Linked DNA regions of Homo sapiens: region 1 is linked to region 2. Evidence: promoter capture Hi-C in human tissues and cell types (Jung and others, 2019). All regions are on one chromosome and are shown on one strand. Each heading gives the region's core, a stretch centred on a gene start or on the middle of the fragment in contact. The rest is flanking DNA. Distances are from core to core; before and after follow the strand shown. Region 1 has its middle 66 kb from the start of MPHOSPH6. Region 2 holds the start of MLYCD (malonyl-CoA decarboxylase).

Evidence for each region. The method cuts DNA at HindIII sites, captures the fragments that hold promoters and counts their contacts. A contact is called where the count stands out against the background at its distance.
Region 1: a contact is called between a fragment that was not itself captured here and the fragment with the promoter of MLYCD in region 2, in 1 of the 25 tissues and cell types used here (dorsolateral prefrontal cortex).

Annotation. Positions count from the first base shown.
Region 1 is chr16:82,232,243-82,240,114 of GRCh38, reverse strand. No RefSeq gene overlaps it. Among named protein-coding and RNA genes, the nearest start is that of MPHOSPH6, 66 kb to the right of the region's middle. The HindIII fragment of the contact is 3,085 bases long and covers 3,341-6,425 here.
Region 2 is chr16:83,893,845-83,900,788 of GRCh38, reverse strand. MLYCD (malonyl-CoA decarboxylase) reads right to left here and starts at 1,674. Exons shown (of 5, transcript NM_012213.3): 1 at 1,117-1,674. The coding sequence starts at 1,644. RefSeq lists silencers at 1,005-1,174, 1,475-1,904. The HindIII fragment of the contact is 9,996 bases long and covers 1-6,944 here.

The sequences.
Region 1 (7,872 bases), core at 3,634-6,133, 1.7 Mb after region 2:
TTTCCAAAACCCTTTGCCCATGTCTCTGACGTGAATACTAGACTGTATTTTCACATACCTTGTGGACTCACTAACTTGAGCTCTTTGAGGACAGGGGCATGTCTTACCCATACTAGTGCCTAGAACAATGTCTGGCGTGCATTTTTTAATTAATTATAAGCTTTATATTTCAGAGTGGCTTAAGATTTACAGAAAAAATTGCAAAGACAGTATAGAAAGTTCCCCTAAACCTCACACCAGGTATCCCCTATTATAAACATTTTCCATTAGCATTGTACATTTGACATAATTAACGAATCAATATTCAAGCATTATTATTAACCAAAGCCCACACTTTATTCAGATTACCTTAGTTTTCATCCAATGTTCTTTCAGTATTTCAGGATCCCACCCAAACATGTCTCTCCATGCTCTTCTTTGCTATGACAGTTTCACAGAATTTCCTTGTTTTTTAAGACTTAGACAGTTTTTAAGTTGCGGTCAAGTATTTTGTACAATGTGAAACAATTGGAATTTGTCTGATCTTTTTCTCATGATTAAACCAAGGTTGCAGAGAAGAAGACCACAGAGGTAAAGTGACATTCTCATCACATCATATCAAAGGTGCATGCTATCAACATAATTTGTCACTGTTAATTTTGACCTTAATCTTCCAACTGAGGACGTGTTTGCCAGGTTTGTCAATGCAAAGTTACACTCCCCTTCCTCTCCTTTCCAGACTTCACTCTTTTGAAGAAGTCACAATGCACAGCCCACACTAAAGAAATGGGAGCCATGCTCCAACCCCTTGGAGCAAAGAGTATCTACATAAATTACTTGCATTTCTTCTGCATAGGATATTTGTGTATCCCCCCCATCTATTTGTTTATTTAATCATTTATTTACATCAGTATGAATGCATGGATATTGATTTCATACCTTGGGCTATAATCCAATACTACTCTATTTTATAGAGCACATTGTCCCCAGTTGGCCATTGGGAGCTCTTGCAGTTGTCTTCTATGTCTCTTTGACACACCCAATTGTTGTGGAGTTTTTTGTTTTGTTTTGCTTTGTTTTGAGGGGGAGAGTTTTGGGGTGGGGATTGTTTTTGTGGGATTTTTATTTATTTCAGTCGGTTTTTGGGGAACAAGTGGTGTCTGGTTACATGGATAAGTTATTTAGTGATTATTTCCAATTTTCTGAAAAAGGGATTGTACCCGAAATATACAGGGGATTCTTAGAACTCAGCAATAAGAGAATAAAAAACCCAATTTATAAATGGGCAAGAGATCTGAACGATTACCTCACTAAAGAAGATATTTCCGAGATTTTGGTGTACCCATCACCCGAGCAGTGTATGCTGTACCCAGTGTGCAGTCTTTTATCCATCACGCACTCCCACCCAAAACGTCTGCATGGTAAAAGAAATAAAAAGCAGAGTAAACAGATAACCCACAGACTGGGAGAAAATATTCTCAAACTATGCATCTGAGAAAGGACTAATATCCAGAATCTACAAGGAACTCAAACAAATCAGCAAGAAAATTATAAATAATCCTATCAAAAAGTGGGCTAAGGACATGAATAGAAAATTCTCAAAGCAAGATACACAAATGGCCAATAAACATATAAAAAAAGCCCAACATCACTAATTATCATGGAAATGCAAATCAAAACCACAGTGCAATACCACTTTACTCCTGCAAGAACGGCCATAATTTTAAAATCAAAAAATAGTAGATATTGGTGTGGATGTGGTGAAAGGGAACACTTTTACAATGCTGGTGAGAATGTAAACTACTACACCCATTATGGAAATTCCTTAAAGAACTAAATGTGGGTTTTCTTTTTTTTTTTTTTAGAACTTTCTGGCACATAAGATGCTCCAGGCTTATCTGGTGTATTTCCTGCTCCAAGTCTTTAAATCCAGGAAGACCTAGCTTCCTGGTACCCATAATCTGGGTACCAGGTGCACTGGTTGCTACTGGGACATTGTTGACACTAGGCCCACTCAGCTGAACAAGCAAGGAAATATATGTGTGTATACCAACTCAAGTACATACACATACCTACAAATATTTCTTCATGTAACTATCCATATCTATTAAGCTGACATCAGTTCAATTCCAATACAGATGTGTAAAAGCATCTGAATTGCTAACCCACACTCCCATGAGATACAAATTTATCAACTAAAATACAATAATTCTTTTGCCTCTAGTTTTACAAATTCCACTCATTTCCAAAGTTACTTAGGTCAGTACCTGTTCCCCAACTCCTTTCAGTGAAATTGTTTCACATACTGTGATACAGTTAGACTGTTGTGTCACAGTCTATGTTCCATCCTAAATTTCCATGACTTCCTAAATGCTTTTTTAAACTTGTGTACATTAAGGTTCACTGTTTGTGTGTTAAAGGTCAATGGATTTTGATAGATACATAATCTTATTTGTCACAATTATAGTATTATACAGAATAATATCACTGCCCTAAAAAGAAAACTCTACGCTTCACCTATTCAACCCTCCCTTCCCCTCACCCAAGCCCCTCGCAATCATTTATTTTTGTGTCGTCTTTATAGTTTTGCCTTTTCCAAAATGTCATATCATTGAAATCAAACAATATGTAGCCTTTTAAGGCTAGCTTTCTCCAACTAGCAATATGCATTTAAGTTTCATCTCTCTGCATAATATGCCATAGAATGAGTGGACTACAGTTTACCCACTCATCTATTGAAGCGCATCTTGGTTGCTTCCAGTTATTGGTGGTTATAAATAAAGCTGCTACAAACATTTCTAGGCAGGCTTTTGTGTAAACATAAGTTTTCAGATCAGCTGGAGAAATAACTAGGAGTGTACTGCTAGATTGTGTGGTAACACTGTGTTTAGCTTTACGAGAAACTGCCAAATTGTCTTCCAAAGCTACAGTACCATTTACGTTCCCACCACAAATGAACGAGCATTCTTGTCGCTCCACATCCTTGCCAGCAATTGGTACTATCGGGTGGTTTTCTTTGTTTAGTTTTAGTCATTCTAGGAGGTGTAGTGATATCTCATTATTTTAATTTTCAGTTCCCTAATGGCAAATGATGGTTTGCATTCTTTCATATGCTTATTTACCATCTGTATATCTTCTTTGGTGAGGTGATCATTCAGATCTTTTGTCCCTTTTTAAATTGAGTTTTTTGTTCTCTTATTGCTGAGTTCTAAGGATTCTCTGTATATTTTGGATACAAGCCCTTTTTCAGACATAAGCTTTATACATATTTTCTCCCAATCTGTGGTTTTTCTTTTCATTCTCTTAACAGTGGCTCTTAAAAGTCCACTTTTTCAGACTTTGTTCATTTAATAAGGTCCAACTTGTCAATTTTTCTTTCATAAATCATGTTTTTGGTATTGTATCTAAAAACCCATTGGTAAATAAAAGGTCACGTAGATTTTCTCCTGTATTATCTTCTAGAAGCTTTACAAGTGTGTGGTTTATATTTAGGTCTATGATTCATTTTGAGTCAATTTTTGTGAAAGGTGTAAGGTCTGTGTCTAGGTTGGGTTTTTCTGTTTTGGTTTGGTTTTGATTTGCATATGGACATCCAATAGTTTCAGCACCATTTCTTAAAAAGACTATCCTTTTTCTCTTAAACTGCCTTTATTCCTTTGTCAAAAATCATTAGGCTATATTTGTGTGGGTCTACTTCTAGACTCTCTACTCTGTCCCATTGACCTGTTTGTCTGTTCCTCCACCAATATCACACCGTCTGGATTACTATAGCTTTGTAGCAAGTCTTGCAGTAAGACATTGTTCTTCTCTTTCAACATTGTGTTGGTTTTTGGGGGTCATTTGCCTTTCCACATAAATTTTAGATCAGTGTGTCAATATCTAAAATACAGCTTTCTGGAATTTTGATAGGAATTACATTGAATCTGTACATCAAGTAGGGAAGAATTGACATCTTAATAATATTGAGTCTTTCAATCCATGAACACGGACTATCTATTCAGTTTGATCTTTTATTTCTTATGTCAGAGTTTTATAGTTTTCCACATAGAGATTCTATACATATTTGTTAGATATATACCTAAGTATTTCATTTTGGGGGCACTATTAATATCTGTTATCTTTTTATTCCAAATTCTAATCATCCGTTCCTGGTATAGGAAAGCAATTGACATCTATATATTACCTTATATTTTGTGATCTTGCCATAATTATTGATTAGTAGATTCTTTGTGATTTTCTAAATAGACAATATACAGAACAGAGATAGGTGCATTTCTTCCTTCTCAATCTGTATACTTTTTGTTTCCTTTTCTTGTCTTATTGCACTACAAAAGACTTCCAGTACAATGTTGATTAGGGGTGGTGAGAAAAAAAATCCTTGCTTTGTTCCCAAACTTAGAGAAAACACCCAGTTCTCATTATTAAATATAATGTTAGTGGTAGGTTTTTTTAGATGTTCTTTATCAAGCTGAAGAAGTTCTCCTCTATTCTCAGTTTACTAAGAACTTTTGTCATATCGACATGTGTCCCCACCAGATCTCCCATCAAGGAAAGACTCGTTACCCCAGTTATCATTTCTTTCAGGATCTGCCTCAGCCACAGAGCTACCTTTCCCAAGGGCACATTCTTCCTGGGGCAACGCACATTCAGTGATTGATAGAGGGGTGTTGTAAAGGCCCGACCGTTTTAGTACATCAGGGTCAACTGCGATGAAGAACATATGCTCAGAGCTCTCCCTGGAGTCAGCCAAAGCTTTGCCAGACCTACATTACAGTTCAACTTTTCCCTCTACCCAACCAGGCTTCTTTCTCCTCCATTCAACAGGTGCTGATATCTGATAAACATCCTGTGCACCAAACTCTACCTCAGTGCTGACTTCCAAACACCCAAGCTCTCCCTATAGAGAAAACTTATTTTCCATGCCACTTCACAAATGACAGAGTGGCTTTTTTTTCCTACCAGACCATCAGCTACACACACACACACACACACACACACACACACACACACGAGTAGAGGGAGAAAAAAAACATTTCCCTCACCATTTGGTTATCACTTAAGAGTGCTAAATTTTGATGCTTGGCTGTAGGGTCTGTATCCATTTGACATTGTCACTCAATACAGATTCTCTTAATTCTCCTTGCCCACTTTGCAGAGTAATGCAGCCACATTAGCAGAAATGCTTGGACTCTAAAATGGCCTGGCTCCTACCCCTAGACAAAGGAATTCAAGTAGGCAGATGTCACAACCAGAAAGCCTCTTCCAAAAGCAGCACCGATGCAAAAACCACCAGACACAAAGCCAAAGAGCTCATCAGAAGCGTCAAAAAAGACGAAACACAAGTCAGAATCAGAGGATTGTCACTAAGGGTTTTAGTTCAGGATCAGATGAAACAGAGTGCTACCACCTAGTACAGTATATCACATATAAGAGTATATGCTAATTTTTGTGGGGCTTTTTTGAGAACTCTTTTATATTCTGGCACAGAAGATGCTCCAGGCCTATCTGGTATTAGTTCAATTTTATTGAACAAATTCAATAAATATTTGCCAAGTAAATTAATGAGCACATTCGGAATTAGAAGTTCTAGATCCTGACCCTAGTTTTTGTACACATAGTATACAATCGAGAGCCAACTATAAAACTACATATGGACTGTTTAATTTCCATGCATTCAGCTTACAAACATTTCATCAGCTTTTTCATATTTGTAGATGTTTGGCTGTTTCACAGTAGCATTGTTAGCCAATTAATATTTCCATTTTAGTAGTATCTCCATATTTGAAGGTAAAGCAATGTTTGTGCAATTATACAACTATTTTATTGCATTTGTTCTTATTAGTTTACAAAAATGAGTGGAGAAAGAAAAATGAATGTTGATTCCTGGCATAAGCATAGGTCTCATTAACTCAATACAATAGAGACAAAGATAGAAATCATTAGGCCTGTGGAAAGTGGTAAGTCATTAGCCTCAATCAGATGCTCATTGACTTCAAGCTGGTCAAACTTGTGCTCTATTTTGAAAGGAAATAATAAAATGAAAGACCTTGTATGGAATGTATAAATCATCGAGAATGATGCCTAAAAGCTAAGGTGTAATTAGGGACGTTAGAATGTTTTTCAGCTCTCTAGTAACAGAACCCACATGTAATCTCATTGAAGTTTCATAGCTGACTTTTGCACAAGTTTTTGAAAGAACATTAGGTACAAAATCAGGGGGATGGCTCAACTAATGCACGGCCTTCCACTCTTACAGAGTTGTATATTACCCAGTAGACAATAAAATCTGTGACTGCAATACTGGTTTTTAGTCTGTCATATTTATATAAACCTTGATATTTTGTAAGTACAAATGTATTGGCAATTTTGTTGGCCTAATACCAATCAGTACAAATAGATAGGTGTGGGTATAGGTATAGGTGTACTTATGGGAATAGGTATGGATACAGATGTACATGCCTAGGCACCTTAGCATACTCCCATTTCTGGAATGTAGCCCATAGTGTTTTTTTTTTTAAGAGGAAAATATGGAAGGGACAATGGGGTAGAGAAGACAGAAAGTGGAAGGGAGACTTATAGGCCCAATTCCCAGCCCATCCCCTGAGGTTGACCACCTCCCTTTCTTCAGAACTAGGTCAATCATCTTACTCTGCTCCTCTTTCATTTCCAGGGCACCATTTCTATTATTAAGGCCTGAATCCAGCTACCTTATGATGATTTATTTTAAACAGGACTCTGGTTCACAACCACTCTACAGGATAGATTCAAGCCTGTAAGACGAAGGAAATTCAGTCTTTGAAGTGGAACAATATCTGAGGACAAGGGGTGGAGGAGGCCTCTTATTACCTCTTTTAAACAAAATACTACAAATATTGCAGCCATTTCAATACTTTCATAAATAAATACAAAAAATTGTCATTGTACACCAATTTTGCTGATGACATGAAAGCATTTCAAAGAATACACAGTAGGCATTTTTTCATTTGCAAATTTAACATGCATGATTTTGACAATTTGTGAGAGATCCTGGAGGAGCATGACATGTAGCAATTTGTAATTTTGCTAAGGCACTAATTTGAATCACCTCCACTGTGAGCTAGTGTGTGGGGAATTAGTCATTCAGGTGGTCAATGAGCCAATACCTGCATCGTGATGCTAGTTTGTTGCTCATTGTTGATGAATCTGGGGGATTCTGGAAAGTTTCAAGACAAATATACTACTAGTTGACTACACAGTTCAATACAATTAGCTGTTAGAATTGTATATGTAAAAACGCAGATAGATCTCATTGGGGATGACCCTACCTGACCACTGGAGCCAATTGCAGGTGTCAAGAGTGGTCAAAACCAGATAACCCACCTCTGTTTTACATTCTATCAGGGCATTGGGGTAATAATTGGCATAATAATCTAGCACTTACTTGTTTGCATCATATAAACACTGAGGTGTTTTTAAAAATATTCTGTCCACCAGTGTTGAGTAGTGGTATGCTTCCTCACCTGTGGTAGATACCATTCAGTGCCTGCCAATGCCCATCCTCCACCTCTTTGTTACTCACAGCCCCTCATTGTTGTCCATGACAGTAGTGGATCCAGTATCTACTTTATCTACTCCCCTAATGTCTAGGGGTGGCCCTATGAAGCCAGTTCTGGCTAAAGAGATGTAAGAGGAAGCCATCTGGGAAACTACCAGCAAAATTTCGCTTTCCTATGAAAGCGACGATGTGGCCTAAACCATTGCCCCTGACTTTCTGCCTTGAACTTGGCCATGAGGACTAAAGCTATAGCAGCCTTCTTGCAACCACAAAGCCATAAGCAACAGAGAATGGCTGGGTTCAGGCCTTAATGGAAGGGAGGGTGGCCTGGAGGTAAAAGCAATAAGCAGAGAAATAAT
Region 2 (6,944 bases), core at 425-2,924:
AACCAGTATTAGAGTTCTTAAATGGGTCAAGTCATAATCATTCAAGTGTTCAATTTTTTTTTAACACCAACTGCACATAACAAACTTCTGAATGTCCAAAACTTCCTGAAACATTTACGTCATTTTTCGTTCATTAAAAGGGCAGGTTAAGCCTGGGCCACATGGTGAAACGCCCTCTCTACAAAAAAAAAAAAAAAAAAAAAAAATTAGCCGGGCATGGTGGCCTGCACCTGTAGTCCCAGCTACTCAGGAGGCTGAGGTGGGAAGATTGCTTGAGCCTGGGGAAGTCGAGGCTGCAGTGAGCCGTGATAACACCACTGTACTCCAGTCTGGGCAACAAAAATAAAAATAAAAAAAGGGCAGGTTAGTTTTTCGCCGTATTTAATACTAACAGTATAAAAGAAGAGTATATGTTGCTCTAGGCCTTCTTTCGGGTCATAATCATTTAAATCTCAAAGTATGTGTCTGCATTTAACATGAATGAACTGTGCTAATGCCTGATTACCTCAAGTCAACTCAGAATCATCACATTAAGTACTGAACGCAGGGAGTTAAATGCCCTCCCAAAAGTCATGGAGCACAGACAAGGCCAGAAGCCATGGAGACTCCTGGGTGGTGGTGGTGACCTTGAGTCCTATTTACCTTTGTGCATTTCACAGGACTTCTCAGGACAATGTCTCACACATAGCGGGTGCCCAGTGAACTTCTGAAACACCATCCAGGGTCTCAGAAGGCTGCCTGATGCTCTAGTTCAGGTATACCATATAGATGAAACACTTCTCAGCTACAATAATTTCAAAAGACTGTAGAGCACACACTAATCAGGTACGAGAGGTGACAGCTACCTTAAAGACCACCAAGTGCTGAGTATTTAGTAAACACTATACAAGTGAGGACTTCAAGGACAGACTGGAGGAAGGCGGGGGTGTGCTCTGACGAGGCCAGGACTCAGACAGCGTGGGAAGGGGACACAGTTGGCAGGCGGTAACTGCGGGCGAAGTGAGCGTGCTATCGGGCAGGGAAGGCGGGGTGTGTGGGACTTGGAGGGGGCAAGTGAGGACTACTCGAGGAGGGCGGCCAGTCCGCGCTGCCGGGGGATCGACGGCGGCCCCTTACCCGGACGTCCGGCCCCTCCACCAGCTTGAGGGCCTGCGCCTCCAGCAGGTCGGCCCGCAGCTGCACCAGGAAGCGCACGCCGCCGTCCAGCTTGCTGATGTGGTGGAAGAGGCCGCGATAGCGCGGCACCAGCGCGTAGCGCAGCCGGTCCTCGGCCTGCAGCAGCACCGCCGCCTCCCGCTGCTGCTGGCGCAGATGGAGCACGCCGGCGCTCTGCTCCGCCACCTGGCCGTGGTCCACGCCGAAGCCCCGCGCCAGGCGGCCCAGCAGTTCGGCCCGCTGGGCCGTCTCGGCCAGCCCACCGTAGAAGCTCACGAAGTCCGCGCACTGACCCTCGGCGGGCGCCGGTGTCTTCTCGCGCAGCTCGTAGGCCGGCGTCGGCGGCACCGCGCGGCGCAGCAGCTCGTCCATGGCCCGCTCCAGGGCGCCGGCCGCCTGCCCGCTCGCCAGCCGGGGCCCGGGCGGCCGCGGGGGCAACCGCAGCGGGAGGAGACGCCTGGCCGTCAAGCCTGGCCCGAAGCCTCGCATGGTGCCCCACAACAGCTGCCGAGGGGGAGCGCCGCCGCCGCTGCCGCGCTTCCGGCTTCCGGCGCGCGCCGGCCCCATTGGCCGAGGCCGCGAGCCCGGCTGGGGACGCGGCCAATAGGAGGGCGGGGCGGTGGGGGCGAGGCGGCGGGGGCGGAGCGGCTCTGGCGGCGGCCGGAGGCCAAGTGTGGCTAAAGGTTACTGCCCCGCGGCTGGGCTGCCTCGGGGCCTGCTCCCGCGCGGCTGGCGGCTTGTACTCCGGTCCTAACACCTGACCGCCTAAAGGCACCGGCCCAGCCCCTCCTCTCTTTCCCGACTGCACTGCACAAGTGCCGCCTCCTCTCTAGATCCGAGCGCCTCCAGCCTCCCGGTGCATCAGAGTCACCTGGGAACTCCTGCACCGGAGGATTCCTGGGCTCCGAAATCAGAATCCTAGAGATTCAGATTCAGTGTGTCTGGGAGGAGCCAAGGAATATGCTTGCTTAAGAGGTGTTTGTGGCAATCCTCTGGCATGGTAGGTAGCCTTTGTTTGACCCCTGCCTAGGCACTCACCATTCGCGTCAGTGTCTTACACACATGACGCTCAGAGCCACAGAGGTTGGAGGGGTGTGTGAGTGTGTGTGGAGAGAGAGAGAATATGTCTATATGTATGGATGTATGTACACATACGCACGCATATACACATACATATGTATGTAAAAGAGACATGGAGACAGAGAGACTGATGGAAAGCCATACCCTTGAGCAAATGCCAGAATGAGACAAAGAGTTTTCTTTGAAATAGTTTTCAGATAATTGCAGTTATCAAGGCATATTTATTTTGTCCTCTAGAAAGATAGGCCTGAACTCTAGTTCCCCCTCCTTCCCCAATCCATTACAATCTGTAGAAGAGAATGTCACATACCAGCCATGTCTCCCACATGCAAAATTGCAGGAGGCATTAGGAACACAGTGGGATTTTGTTCCACTCTGATGGAAATATGGCATCTTTGGTTGGAGGGTGAGGGAGCCATGTACTTGGTTGACTATGTCTAGGTGCTAGGATTTCTATAGGTAGAACCCTTTGGTGCAGGTCTTGCAGTATAAAAGACACCTGGAGGTAGTTCTGTATGAGGACAGCCTTTGCTGGGTGTGTCTCATCTTATGGGGCACGAAGAAAGTACGTTTGGCTCATTCTGCCAAGACACAGACACACAAAACATTCTGAAAGCCTAGTGGTGGCTTTTGAGGACACCTCTCCATTCCTCTTTTCTAAGAAGTGGTGAAACCATATTGCCAGCTGGCTAAGGGAGTTGGTGGGGTCCAAACTCTGGTGTTTGTCTCTTTGCCTTGTCGAGTGAGCTTTTGTCTGTCCTAGGATACTCCTGCCTTGCTTTAGGAATCTTGTCTTGAAAGCTTGACTTTGCTTAAGCATTTGCTAAGTGTAGTACTCCCACAACCCTGTTCTTTCTCATCTTTCCCGGTGCCTTCCTTTTTATGTAATTTCTGGCTTCTGTTTTTTTTTTCTCTGTGTTTATACTTTTTTCTCTAGGCGTCAACAGCCATCCTCTGCTTTTTCCCACTCATGTCCTTATTTCAAAAGACTGCCCCAATCCAAAAATGAAATTAAAGAAACAATTCTATTTACAACAACATCTGAAGGGATAAAAGAAACATGTTTAACCAAGGAAGTGTGAGACTGGTAGATGGAAAACCACAGAACAGTATTGAAGGAAATTAAAGAAGACCTAAACAAATGGAATGGTCCATGCATGGTTCATGGATTGGAAGATGTAATATTGTTAATATAGCTCATATGGTTTGGATCTGTGTCCAACCAAATCTCATGTCTAGTTGTAATCCTCAGTGTTGGAGGTGGCGCCTGGTAAGAAATGATTGGATCATAGGGGCAGAGTTCTCATAAATGGGTTAGCACCATCCCCGCTTGGTACCCTACAGTGAGTTCTCAGGAGATCCGGTTGTTTAGAAGTGTGCATCACCACCCCCTCTCTCCTGCTCTGGCTATGTGAAGCTCCTCACTCCCCCTTTGCCTTCCGCCATGAATGGAAGCCTCCTGAGGCCTCTCCAGAAGCAGAAGCCACTACGTCTTCTGTACAGCTTGTGGAACCATAATCCGATTAAACCTCTTTTCTTTATGAATTACCCAGTCTCGTGTATTTCTTTATAGCAGCGTGAGAATAGACTAATACAATGGCAATACTCCCAAAATTAACCTACAGATCTAATACAATCCCTATTAAAATTTCACTGCCCTTTTTTTTTTTGCAGAAATAGAAAAACATATTCTAATATTTATATAGAAATGCTAGGGGCCCTGAGTGGCCAAAACAATCTTTAAAAAGAACAAACTTACTACAAAGCCACAGTAATCAAAATAATGTGGTATTGGCAGAAAGATAAAACACAAAAATCAATAGAATAAAATTGAACATTCAGAAATAAACCCATCTATGGTCAATTGATTTTTTTTTTTTTTTTTGAGACAGAGTCTCACTCTGTCACTCAGGCTGGAGTGCAGTGGCATGGTCTCGGCTCACTGCAACCTCTGCCTCCCAGGTTCAAGTAATTCTCCTGCCTCAGCCTCCTGAGTAGCTGGGACTACAGGTGTGTGCCACCACACCCAGCTAATTTTTGTATTTTTAGTAGAGACAGGGTTTCACTAAGTTGGCGAGGCTGGTCTCGAACTCCTGACCTCGTGATCCGCCCACCTTGGCCTCCCAAAGTGCTGGGATTACAGGCGTGAGCCACCGTGACCAGCCTGGTCAATTCATTTTTGACAAGGGTTCTAAGACCATTCAGTGGGTAAAAGTGAGTCTTTTCAACAAATGGGACGGGGACAACTAGACATCTACAAGCAAAACAACAAACATGGACCCCTACCTACCTCACAGCCAATAGAAGAATTAACCCAAAATGGATCCAAGACCTAAATGTAAGAGCTAAGACTATAAAATCCTTAGAAGGGAAAATAGGTGTAAATCTTCAGGACTTTGGAATAGCAATTATTTCTTAAATATGACGTCACAAGTGCAAACAACAAAAGAATAATAGATAACTTGGACCTCATCAAAATGAGAAACTTTTATATATTGAAGGACACCATCAATAAAGTAAAAAGATGAGCCACAGAGTGGGAGAAATATTTGAAAATCATATATCTGATAAGGGTCTTTATGTGGATTATATAAAGAATTGTGGCCGGGCATGGTGGCTCACGCCTGTAATCCCAGCACTTTGGGAGGCCAAGGCAGGCGGATCACAAAGTCAGGAGATCGCGACCATCCTGGCTAACACGGTGAAACCCCGTCTCCACTAAAAATACAAAAAATTAGCCGGGGGTGGTGGCCGGCGCCTGTAGTCCCAGCTACTCAGGAGGCTGAGGAAGGAGAATTGCGTGAACCCGGGAGGGTGAGCTTGCAGTGAGCCAGATCGCGCCACTGCACTCCAGCCTGGGCAACAGAGCGAGACTCTGTTTAAAAAAAAAAAAAAAAAAAGAATTCCTACCACTAAACAATAAAAAGACAAACAACCTAATTAAAAATGGACAGAAGATTAGAATAGACATCTCTCCAAAAAATATATATATGTGTGTGTATATATATATATGTGTATGTATATATATATGTGTGTGTGTGTATATGTATGTATGTGTATGTGTAAATATATATGGCCAGTAAGTGCATAAAAAGATGCTCAACGTCATTAGTCGTTAGGGAAATGTAATCAAAGCCACGAGTTACCACTTCACATCCACTAGGATGGCAATAATAATAACAACAGAATAACTGGTGAGAATGTACAGAAATTAGAACCCTCATACTCCGCTGATGAGAATGCTAAATGATACAGCCACTGTGGAAATCAGTTTGGCAGTGCCTCAAAAAGTCAAAGAGAATTGCCATAGAGCCCAGTAATTCCACTCCTAGGTACCCAAGAGAATTGTGAACATACATTCACACAAAAACGTGTGCACACATTTTCCTAATATGTAACTTAAAATAGCAAAAAGTAGAAAGAACCCACGTGTTCATCAGTGGATGGATGGGGTAAACCAAAGGCGGTCTCACCATACCACGGAGTATTATTTAGCTATAAACACAAATGAACCCCTGGCCCCTGCTACAACATGGATGAACCTTGAAAACACTGTGCTGAGCAAAAAGAAGGCAGTCACAAACGGCCATGTGCTGTATGATTCCATTTATATGACATGTACAAAACAGGCAAATCCCTAGCGACAGAAAAAAAGTTGATCTGTAGTTGCCAGGGGCTGTGTGGGGTCGGGGATGGGGAGAGGGGAAAGACTGCTTATCAGCACAAGTTTCTTGTTGGGCTGATGAAAACGGTGTGAAGTGAGGTAGTGGTGATGATAGCATAACATTTTGAATATACTAAAAACCACTGCTTTGCACACTTTAAAATGGCTAAAATAGTGAATTTTATGTTATGGGTATTTTGTCTTAAAAAAAAAACAAAACTGGCTGGGCGCGGTGGCTCACGCCTATGATCCCAGCACTTTGGGAGGCCGAAGCGGGTAGATCACGAGGTCAGGAGTTGAAGACCAGCCTGGCCAAGATGGTGAAACCCCGTCTCTACTAAAAATACAAAAATTAGCCAGGTGTAGTGGCAGGTGCCTGCAATCCCAGGTACTCAGGAGGCTGAGGCAGAGAACTACTTGAACCCGGTGGGTGGAGGTTGCAGTGAGCTGAGATCGGGCCACTGCACTCCAGCCTGGGCGACAGAGCAAGACTCCATCTCAAAAGAAAATGAAAAACAAACAAAAAAAACTACCTCGGAGGCATTATCATTGCTCTACCAGTTTCAAAGACTCAGTAGAGAGAATCTGATTGGTTCACTTTGGATCAGGGCTAGACTGGGATACAGGATAACACGGAGCCCTCAGAGATGTTAGGGATTTAGCCTTTTGGGTGGGGACACAGTGTTCGGACAAGAGGGGTGTGGGCTAGGCAGTTGTCCCAAAAGATGTCTACTTTAAGTATTAAGAAAAATCAGGCTGGGTGTGGTGGCTCACGTCTGTAATCCCAGCACTTTGGGAGACTGAGACAGGTGGATCACCTGAGGTCAGGAGTTCGAGACCAGCCTGGCCAATATGGTGAAACTCCATCTCTACAAAAAATACAACAAATTTGTATTTTTTGTACACCACAGGCGTGGTGGTGGGCGCCTGTAATCCCAGCTACTCTGGAGGCTGAGGCAGGAGAATCACTTGAATCTGGGAGACGGAGGCTGCAGTAAGCCCAGATTACACCATTGTACGCCAGCCTGGGCAACAAGAGTGAAAC